2 separate regions of the Homo sapiens genome follow, and region 2 is linked to region 1. Evidence: promoter capture Hi-C in human tissues and cell types (Jung and others, 2019). All regions are on one chromosome and are shown on one strand. The core of a region is centred on a gene start or on the middle of the fragment in contact, and the rest is flanking DNA. Distances in the headings are between cores, read along the strand shown. Region 1 holds the start of STARD9 (StAR related lipid transfer domain containing 9). Region 2 overlaps STARD9 (StAR related lipid transfer domain containing 9).

Region 1 (5,002 bases), core at 1,362-3,861:
ATCGCTTGAACCCAGGAGGCGGAGGTTTCAGTGAGCTGAGATCGCGCCATTGCACTCCAGCCTGGGTGACAGAGTGAGACTCCATCTCCAAAAGAAAAAAAAAAAAAAAATTGAGCGTCAACTCTAGTCCTACTGAATAAATAGGCACTTGAGACACAAATGCAACTTTTCTGTAATCTCAGAAAGAGCAGTAGGTCTAATGAATCAAATCTTGGCTCTTACTACTTTTAGAACTTAAGCCAAACCATTCTGTCATCTGGAAAAACAAAAAATAGAAGCTTGGGCCAGATCATCTGTAAGATTTCTTCCCAAGCACAACATCAGATCCAATGACTGTCAACTGAGTGTGTGCCAATGACTTATTTGAAGGTTGGAACAAACCACATAATCACCAGATTCCCCACATTCAGATAAGCCTCAATGAAGACAGTATAACACCCCCTGAAGAACAGCTGCCATCTCTGCAGGATTCTGTGAGAAGAGGGAAGTGATCCGGACCTCTTGGCTGGGGCCACACTGGGTTTATCTGTATCTGCTCCTGAATCTTCAGCCTGCTACAATCTGTTCACACCTGGGTATCTACAGTCTTGACATCCTACCACTTGCTGCTCAAGGCTCTTAACTTGAGCTGAAAGTAAATAAATTGTGCTTTCATTTTCCCTTCACTTTTGTTTGGTATGTTATTCTCTACTGTGGCTGCAAGTAAACCAATTTCAGCATCATTTTCTTAATCTAATTCATGCTATTATAAATTCCTAGTGTCCGGCTGGGCGCAGTGGCTCACGCCTCTAATCCTAGCACTTTGGGAGGCCCAGGCGGGCAGATCACGAGGTCAGGAGATCGAGACCATCCTGGCTAACACAGTGAAACCCCATCTCTACTAAAAATACAAAAAATTAGCCGGGCATGGTGGCGGGTGCCTGTAGTCCCAGCTGCTGGGGAGGCTGAGGCAGGAGAATGGCGTGAACCCGGGAGGCGGAGCTTGCAGTGAGCCGAGATCGCGCCACTCAACGCCAGCCTGGGCGACAGAGCGAGACTCCATCTCAAAAAAAAAAAGAAAAAAGAAAGAAATTCCTAGTGTCCAAGGAACTGAGAAGTTACTGAATGTTAGGAGTGGTCAATACTGTTATCCTGAGAACCCTAAAAGAACAGTTTCACAAATACAGAATATACCAGAGACTACCTCCAGCATAGCATCTGCACTTATAAAACCCCCCCCAGCCCTGAGCTACCACATCCAGTTATGAAGAAGCCAGGTGTCACAAGCCATTTACCAATCAAAACGCAGCAGGTCAGGCATCTGCTTTCCCTCTTTCTTCAGTGTACCTCTTTTGCCTTCTTCCTATTCTCTTTAACTTTTTGTTTCTTTCTATCTCATTGCTCTTCTCATTAGTCTGTCAATTACAAGACTTTTCAAAGCCAATCATTTCTATATGAGGACGAACATAATCCACACTAGTACCCAATTTTATTATGGGAGACGATACCTTTCTTGATCCTTCTGCCCAATTATCAAGCTATCTTATGTCCCAGAGATTTTTAAACTTGCCAAATAATTCCAACATGTGCCTCCTGGTCCCCAAAGCACCCTCTGCCAGATTTACCTTCCACCACTCACTTCCCTCCACACCAACCACCCTTTCCCCACCAAAACTTAACCTCTAGTTAGTCCCTTACAGTCTAAGTCCTTTGCTCTTGGCGGTCTTACTACATAGAAGGCTCTTTAAACTCTCTCCACCTGTCAACAAACTCTAATTGATCTTTAAAAAACACTTCATCTGGTGACAAAGAGAAAAAAGTTCGTGGCTGCACACTGGATGTCTCAAGGGCTGAGATGAGAGGTGCGGAATCAAAATAAGCCACGAGAAAACGGGCACTGAGGGCTCTGAGAGAAAGAAGGGGTTGGAACAACTTCCCCTACTTAACAGTTCCGTCCTGGATTAAATCAGCTGTCGAGCATAGAAAGAAACCGCGACCTGTGTCGGCCTCAATTTCCCCCTCACGCCCTCACCTTCTGCTTTCTCCACATCTTCGCAGAGAAGCCCACGCGCACCCAGAAACACACACCATTCAGCCTCAGTCCTCATGGGTACTCCCAAGCCCCCAGAAAGAGAGAGGAGAATGCTCATCCCTCTCCCAGCCTTTCTCAAAGGCCCAACCCGATGCAGCAAGCCTCGAGCCGCCGTCCCTCGAAACTCCTGCTGGCAGGACGCCAGCGACGCTCACCCAGGGCAGCCCTCCCGCGGCCGTCCGGGAACCGCTATCCCCAGGACACAACGCGAAAGCTCGACTGAGGTCCCGTCCCGCCAGGCCTCCGTGGATTCCGGACCCCGACCCCCCGGGTCACTTTGTCACCGATTTCTGCGCGCCAGAATCTCTGCAGGGGGAGACGCGGACCTCCCGCTCTTTTCAGCTCCTGTGAAGCCTCAGGCGCCCTCTCCCGCGGAGACTCACCTCTTGCTGAGCGGCCGGACCCGCACGGCGACCTGCACGTTCGCCATCCGTCTGCCACAACCCAAGTCCAGCGGGTCAGCTCAGCGGCAGCATCCCAGGCCCCCGCCCTAAGCCCAGACACAGCCCCAACCCAGCCCCGCCCGCCCCACGCGCCTCTGGGGACGCCGCCGCGCGGACGCGAGCTGCCGCCCGAGCGGGGCGGTGCCTGCCTAGCTTCGGCCAATCCTGAGCCCGGTGGGCGGGAGAACTCCCGGCCCCGCCTCCCCTCAATCCTCCTTAAAGCCTCCTGACTCGCCCCCGCCCAAACACGCGCCGCAGCCAGAGCAGGCGGGCCCGTGTGGACGTTCGGCCAGTCCTTAGCCTGGTGGGCGGGAGGATGCCAGGGCTCGCTCCGCCTCGTTCCATCCGAAGCCTCCCGGGTCGCCCCCGCCCAAACACGCGCTGCATCCCGAGCTGGGTGGTGCCCGCCGAGCCTTGGCTAGTCGGTGGGCGGGAGGACGCCCGGGCTCGCCCCGCCTCGCTCCGCCCTACAGCCTCTTGGGACGCCCCCACCCATGCGCGTGCCGCACCGGGCCCAGCAGTGCCGGCCCAGCTTCAGCCAATCCTGAGCCGAGTGGGCCGCGAGGACTCAGTGCTAAGTCTGTTGTTCCTGGCCCCGCTTACCCAGAAATAGTTTTTGTTCCTCGACTAGGTGTCCGTGCTATGTAAAGTCAAGTAAATCAACTTTTGGTCCGAAAGTTTGCAAAGTAATTTGCTAAATACTTTTATTCTCTGCGTTCGCTTGAACTGTCAATTCTGTGGTTAAATTTTCGAGGCAGGCCGGGTGCAGTGGCTCACGTCTGTAATCCCAGCACTTTGGGAGGCTGAAGCGAGATCACCTGAGGTCAGGGGTTCGAGTTCAGCCTGACCAACCTGGTGAAACCCCGTCTGTACTCAAAATACGAAAATTAGCCGGGCCTGTTGGCGTGCGCCTGTAATTCCAGCTACCCGGGAGGCTGAGGCAGGAGAATTACTTGAACCCTGGAGGCGGAGGCTGCAGTGAGCCTGGATCGCGCCACTGTACTTCAGCCTGGGCGACAGAGCAAAACCCTGTCTAAAAAAAATAAAATAAAAAAATAGAAGGCAGTCCCTTACTGGCAAGGTACTTCCTGACATCAGGGACAAAGCATAGATGGAACCAATTCAGATAAAGGGTTATTGTCCAGGTCTTCTTGTACAACCAAAAGACAGGTGGCTGGTGTTTATCTTTTCCCTTCAAGGCTTGAGGGTTAGCAGCCATATAGATAAGGGCAGTGCTGATCATAAACCCAACTGCATTTGCACAAAATATTAGCGTATCCCTTCCTGCCTTAAATCCTGGTGCTTGCTTCTCTTCCTTACTAATAAATGTCCTTTGTGGCATTTATTTTTCCAGAATAGGGAACTTGCATATGCACCGAAAAGCTGTTCAGGCAGATACCCTTTCTTCTCAATTATTTCCTTAATGGTGTCTAGGAACTCATTTGCTCCCTCTTGGTCAGCAGAAGCTGCTTCTCTTGTTATCTTGACATATTTTAAACCAAACCTTTCCAAATTTATCAAATCATCCCTTACTGGCATAAAATTGTTTGGATCCTTCACCTTCCTTTTGCTTCAAGTTGTCATATAATGACTTTGCTTGTTCTCAAATCATATTAAGAGTATATAGGTATATAGATAGGTATGTTTTCCTTTTTTTTTTTTTTTTTTTTTTTTTTTTTTTTGAGATGTTGTCTCACTCTGTCGCCCAGGCTGGAGTGCAGTGGCGCGATCTTGGCTTACTGCAACCTTCAACTCTCTGGTTCAAGCAATTCCCCTGCCTCAGCCTCCCGAGTAGCTGGGATTACAGGCGTGTGCCACCACACCCAGCTAATTTTTTTGTATTTTTAGTAGAGACGGGGTTTCACCATGTTGGCCAGAATGGTCTTGAACTCCTGACTTCAGGCAATCTGACCACCTCTGCTTCCCAAAGTGTTGGGATTACAGGTGTGAGCCACCACGCTGGCCAGGTATGTTTTTCTTACAGCAATCCTGTACCCACATAAAAGCTTCATTTTCTGTTTGTTGTTGTTGTTGTGTGTTTTTGGTTGTTTTGTTGTTGTTGTTGTTGTTTGAGACAGAGTCTTGCTCTGTTGCCCAGACTGGGGTGCAGTGGCACTATCTCAGCTCACTGCAACCTCTGCCTCCTGGGTTCAAGCGATTCTTCTGCCTCAGCCTCCCGAGTAGCTGGGATTACAGCTGTGCACCACCATGCCTGGTTAATTTTTGTATTTTCAGTGGAGATGGGGTTTCACCATGTTGGCCAGGCTGGTCTCAAACTCCTGACCTCAGGTGATCTGCCCACCTCGGCTTCCCAGAGTGCTGGGATTACAGGCATGAGTCACTGCACCTTGCCAAAAGCTGCATTTTCAATATGAGATAAAAAGACATTTCAGGGCCGGGCACAGTGGCTCACGCCTGTAATCCCAGCACTTTGGGAGGCCAAGGTAGGAGTATTGCTTGAGCCTAGTAGTTTGAGACCAGCCTGGGC
Region 2 (5,487 bases), core at 2,597-5,096, 62 kb before region 1:
TCCAAGAGTCATATTTTCTGAGTTGCAGGTACTATACCAATCAAATCATCTAGGAACCTAGGTCTCCTTCCAGGTTCTTGATATACAGGATTCTGTTCCATTCTTCTCTTCCAATGCAATGCAAGTTTCCCAGTTTCAATTCTGTCCCAACTCTAACTGTGTGACTTTGGGAACAACCCTTAACTTTCTCCAGATTTCATTGTTTTCTGTATAATGCGGATATCTGAACTATGTCTGAGGTCTCCTATGGTTACTCCTCCCACACATACACACACAGACTTTTTTTTTTTTTTTTTTTTTGAGACGGAGTCTTGCTCTGTTGCCAGGCTGGAGTGCAGTGGCGCGATCTTGGCTCACTGCAACCTCCACCTCCAGGTTCAAGCGATTCTCCCGCCTCAGCCTCACGAGTAGCTGGGACTATAGGTGTGTGCCACACGCCCGGCTAATTTTTTTGAATTTTTAGTAGAGACAGGGTTTCACTATGTTGGCCAGGATGGTCTCAATCTCCTGACCTCATGTTCTGCCCGCCTCAGCCTCCCAAAGAGCTGGGATCACAGGCGTGAGCCACTGCACCCGGCCCACACACAGACTTTTAAGATGAGAAGTTTGATACTGCTGCATCAACTCATGGTCTGCCTTGAAAGTATTGCTTTACACAGATATGTATACCCACAGAGTTTTACAGAGCAAACTTAAACTGGTTCCTAGCAAAGGAAATGGTGTTTTTGTTGTTGTTTCTAGGCTGCTATTTATGATTAAACATTTGGGAAAAGACATAGGTAGCAGAATCAGTCACTAGCATACCTATTGCGTCATCCATTTGCCATGCCCTGACCAGAGAAAAGACCGGCTCTTGATGTTCATGTCCCGCTCCTTATCAGGATTTAAATTAGCATACTACAGCCAAGCACGCTGGCTCACATCTATAATCCTAGTACTTTAGGAAGCTGAGGTGGGAAGATCACTTGAGGCCAGGAGTTCAAGACCAGCCTGGGCAACATAGTGAGATCCCATCTCTACAGCAAATTTAAAAATCCGCTGCCTAGATGCACACCTGTAGCCCTAGCTACCTGGGAGACTGGGGCGGAAGGATCACTTGAGCCCAGGAGTTCAGGTTGCAGTGAGCTATGTTTGCATCACTGCATTCCAGCTTGGGTGACAGAATAAGACCTTGTGGCTAAAAAAATAAAAATAAAAAATAAACTAGCATACTGCTACAGGAACATAAAATATACATTACTTTTTTTTTTTTTTTGAGATGGCGTCTTGCTCTGTCGCACAGGCTGGAGTGCAGTTGCGCAATCTCGACTCATTGCAACCTCTGCCTCCCAGGTTTAAGTGATTATCCTGCCTCAGCCTCCCGAGTAGCTGGGATTACAGGTATGTGCCATCACACCCAGCTAATCTTTTGTATTTTTAGTAGAGATAAGGTTTCACCATGTTGGCCAGGCTGCTCTCGAACTCCTGACCTCCAGCAAATTCACCAATCTCAGCCTCCCAAAGCATTGGGATTACAGGCGTAAGCCACTGCACCTGGGCCATATATTACTTCTTATAAGTGGCCTGGAAGGGTAAAAACTTCGCCTATAAAAGAACCCATCTGTTGCTACTTAATAGCAGGACCTACCTTAATGATATAAGACAGATGGTACCAAGCACCAAACACCAGTATTTGGTTAGGAAACACATCAAATCCTACCCCATGTCTGATGTCTGACTACCACCACCAATGGCAGAGAAAGGGGACTGGTTTACCAGGGAACCAGTAGAGGCCATGCCATATTGGGCGCCTGCAGACCCCACCACATTCCCTACAGTTTTCCCTCTCATTCACCATGCTTTAGCCACACTGGCCCCTTGAAAACATCAAGCCTTCTCCCAGGGCTCTAGTCCATTCCACTCCCTCTTCCTGAAACACTTCTCACCACGTTACGTCATTCTTCACACGACTATACTCCTTTCAGGTCTCAGCTTAAACGTTTCCTCCTCAGAGAAGCTCTTCCTGATCACCTCATACAGGTGGGCCACCAACACTTTCCAACGTTCTTTGCCATTGACATCCATTTATTTATTAACCTTTATCACTACTTGTAATTGTTTGTTTCCTGACTCACACCCACTAGATTGTAAGCTTGCCTGAGGGCAGGACCACGTCTTCTCTATTTATCAATACATATTCAGTGTCTAGTACAGTAGCTGGCACACGATAAGTGTTCATTACACCTATGTTCAATGAATTAGGGAACATTAGGAGAGCTTCCCAGGCTTCAGTTTGGTTTCAGATCTCCAGGACCACAGTAGCTCACCTTGTACATAGGGCCCCATCTCTGGATGCTCCCTGACCCGCAGGGTATAGGACTTTTTTTGACCAGATTGCTTCAACAGATCCCGCACCCGTTCATTATAGATTTCTAGAAAACTAGAGTTAAGTAGAAAAAGGCAACATAATTATATTTTGAAAAAAAGTAGAAACAACATTGAGCTAAAAATCAGGAGGTCTTAGTTCTTGTTCCAGCTCCACTTCTGACACTCTAAGGCAATGATCAAGCCAAGGTTCCCCCTTGATTCTCTTTCCATACATATACAATAGAGTTTTTTGTATTTTTTATTTTTGAGACAGAGTCTCGCTCTGTCTCACAGGTTGGAGTGCAGTGGCACAATCTTGGCTCACTGCAACCTCCGCCTCCCAGATTCACCGCACCCAGCCACAGAGGTTGTTTCTTGAGTGAATTTCAAACATGACCGTTGAGCTCTATTGTTCTGTGAAGGCATCTCAAGGGCTACTAGACAGCCAGGGTAAGTTGGGCCACAGAAGGAAAGACCTGCTTGTTAAGTCTATGGGTAGGAAATTAAGTTTCCTACAACCAAGGGCCTAAGTATCTTTCTCAGCTCTTGTACTGCAAGATATTTCTTCTGTGGCTTTTCTCCATCCCTGTGGTGACTCTGGAAGCAAAGAGAGGACAGCTGAACATGGTAGAATTTGGAGTAGAAGAAGAACTACTGTAGGTCCCAGAGCTTGGGAGGTTCTTACCTTACTTTTATCCTACAGGAGGAAGGCAGTGAGGCACAGTCTTTCTCCCTGACGAAGAGACCCTGCACAAACCAGAGGGTTGGGGTTTCATTGTAGGAATTGTAGAGAGACCTACTTTGAGAGGATCCAGCCAAAAGATAGTCTATACCTCACATATCCGTGGTGTCAACCCAACAGAGGCCTGGTGAACAGAAGAAAGGAAAGCATTATTGTTTACTTAAGATGATGCTCTCCCCCACAGAATACCCAGGAACCATCCTCAGCATGGGGGATGAGTGCATGGACTCCTTGTGCTAGCCTCTTCACTCCAGGCAGTTTCACTGGGGAATATAGAAGACTTTTATGTGCCAGTGCTCTGAGAGACACTCATGGGAGAAATGTACCAAATGAGAGGAATATGTATCACCATAAGAAGGAAAAGAGGAGAAGCCGGCAAACCCAGATACCTGCTTTTATGCAATGAAGATTACATTATTCTTGGATAAAAACACTTTACCAATGTTCCCCCAGCCCCCTATACCTCCAGTCCTTACAGGCGGACAAGAGTATATGAGTATTCAAAATACACATTTAGACCAGGTGTGGTGGCTCACCCCTGTAATCCCAGCACTTTGGGAGGCCGAGGTGGGTGGATCACTTGAGCTCAGGAGTTAGAGACAAGCCTGGGCAACCTGCGGAGACCCTGTCTCTACTAAAAATACAAAAAAATTAGCCAGGCATGGTGGCGTGTGCCTATGGTCTCAGCTAATCGGGAGGCTAAGGTGGGAGGATCACTTGAACCCAGGAGGCAGAGGCTGCAATGAGCTGAGATCGTGCCACTGCACTCCAGCTTGGGTAACAGAGTGAGACCCCATCTCAAAAACAAAACAAAACAACAAAAACAACAACAGCAAAAAAACACATTTAGAAAGAGGTAGTTTCTTTTCCCATCTTGTATCCAGTGCTAACTTGTACTCGGTTAAGGGCTTTATACTTTTCGTTTAGTGGCCAATTTCTTTTTTTTTTTTTAATTATTATTTTTTTGAAATGGAGTTTCACTCTTGTTGCCCAGGCTGGAGTGCAATGGCATGATCTCGGCTCACTGCAACCTCCATCTCCCGAGTTCAAGGAATTCTCCTGCCTCAGCTTCCCAAGTAGATGGGAGTACAGGCACCCACCACCACACCTGGCTAATTTGTATTTTTAGTAGAGATGGGGTTTCACCACGTTGGCCAGGCTGGTCTTGAACTCCTGAGCTCAGGTGATCCGCCTGCCTTAGCCTCCCAAAGTACTGGGATTATAGGTGTGAGCCAACATGCCCAGCCCCAATTCTTCTTTTAATGTCAAATACTATGAAATCACACTAAACACAGGACAAAGCGAGCAATGAGCTAGGCCCAAGGCATCAGGGATAATCATCTAAGAGGAATCATGTCCTATAGAATGTCCCTGTGTAGTGTTTATTTGTTACCCACCTAACAGGACATATATACTTTTAGAGACAGGGTCTCTTTTTATTTATTTTTTTGAGACAAAGTCTCGTCCCATTTCCCAGGCTGGAGTGCAATGGCACAATCTCAGCTCACCGCAACCTCTCCCTCCTGGGTTCAAGCGATTCTCATGCCTCAGCCTCCCAAGTAGCTGGGATTACAGGCGCACGCCACCATGTCTGGCTAATTTTTGTATTTTTAGTAAAGACTTGGTTTCACCATATTGGCCAGGCTGGCCTCGAACTCCTGACCTTGTGATCTGCCCGCCTCAGCCTCCCAAAGTGCTGGTATTACAGGAATGAGCCACCCCACCCAGCTGAGACAGGGTCTCTTACTCTGTTGCCCAGGGTGGAGTACAGTGGCAAGATCATGGCTAATCACTGCAGCCTCAACCTCCCAGGCTGAAGCCATCCTCCCACCTCAGCCTCCTAAGTAGCTGGGACCACAGGATGTGCCCCCACACCCAGCTAACTTTTGTATTTTTTGTAGAGATGGAGTCTCCCTATGTTGCCTAGACTGTTCTCAAATTCCTGGGCTTAAGAGATCTTTCTGCCTCAGCCACCCCAAAGTGTTGAGATTATAGGTGTGAGCTACTACACCTGGCACCCTGACCAGGATATTTCTAAACCCAAAACAAAAAGGTATTCTTAAGCAACTCTGCCCTCCTGATTTTCTGTGATAAAGGAAGCCTCTCATTAAATCCTGCATACTTTTGAAAGCCCCTGACTCAGGAGCTAGTTCTCCTGCTTTCTTCCAACACACAGATCTAACACATGTAGGCTTGGAGCTTGGCCACAATAATCAAATCTCTGCACAGCTCTAGCATGCACTTAAGATTTAGTCCAGGTCTTGTCCACAACAAAGGTGCAAAACAGATCCAAATAATGAACCTGGAGATAAGTAGAAATTCAGCAGGACTGACAAGAACTGCTTTGTCAAAGGGAGCTGTAAAATTCTAAGGCTCTTCAGGGTTTAATAAAGAGGGGT

Evidence for each region. The method cuts DNA at HindIII sites, captures the fragments that hold promoters and counts their contacts. A contact is called where the count stands out against the background at its distance.
Region 2: a contact is called between a fragment that was not itself captured here and the fragment with the promoter of STARD9 in region 1, in 1 of the 25 tissues and cell types used here (bladder).

The regions. Positions count from the first base shown.
Region 1 is chr15:42,573,215-42,578,216 of GRCh38, reverse strand. It overlaps STARD9 (StAR related lipid transfer domain containing 9), which reads right to left and starts at 2,611. Exons shown (of 33, transcript NM_020759.3): 1 at 2,455-2,611. The coding sequence starts at 2,501. RefSeq lists silencers at 434-493, 2,474-3,103. The HindIII fragment of the contact is 9,099 bases long and covers 1-5,002 here.
Region 2 is chr15:42,635,632-42,641,118 of GRCh38, reverse strand. It overlaps STARD9 (StAR related lipid transfer domain containing 9), which reads right to left. Exons shown (of 33, transcript NM_020759.3): 5 at 3,180-3,212; 6 at 3,032-3,093; 7 at 2,307-2,419. Among named protein-coding and RNA genes, the nearest start is that of STARD9, 63 kb to the right of the region's middle. The HindIII fragment of the contact is 7,138 bases long and covers 278-5,487 here.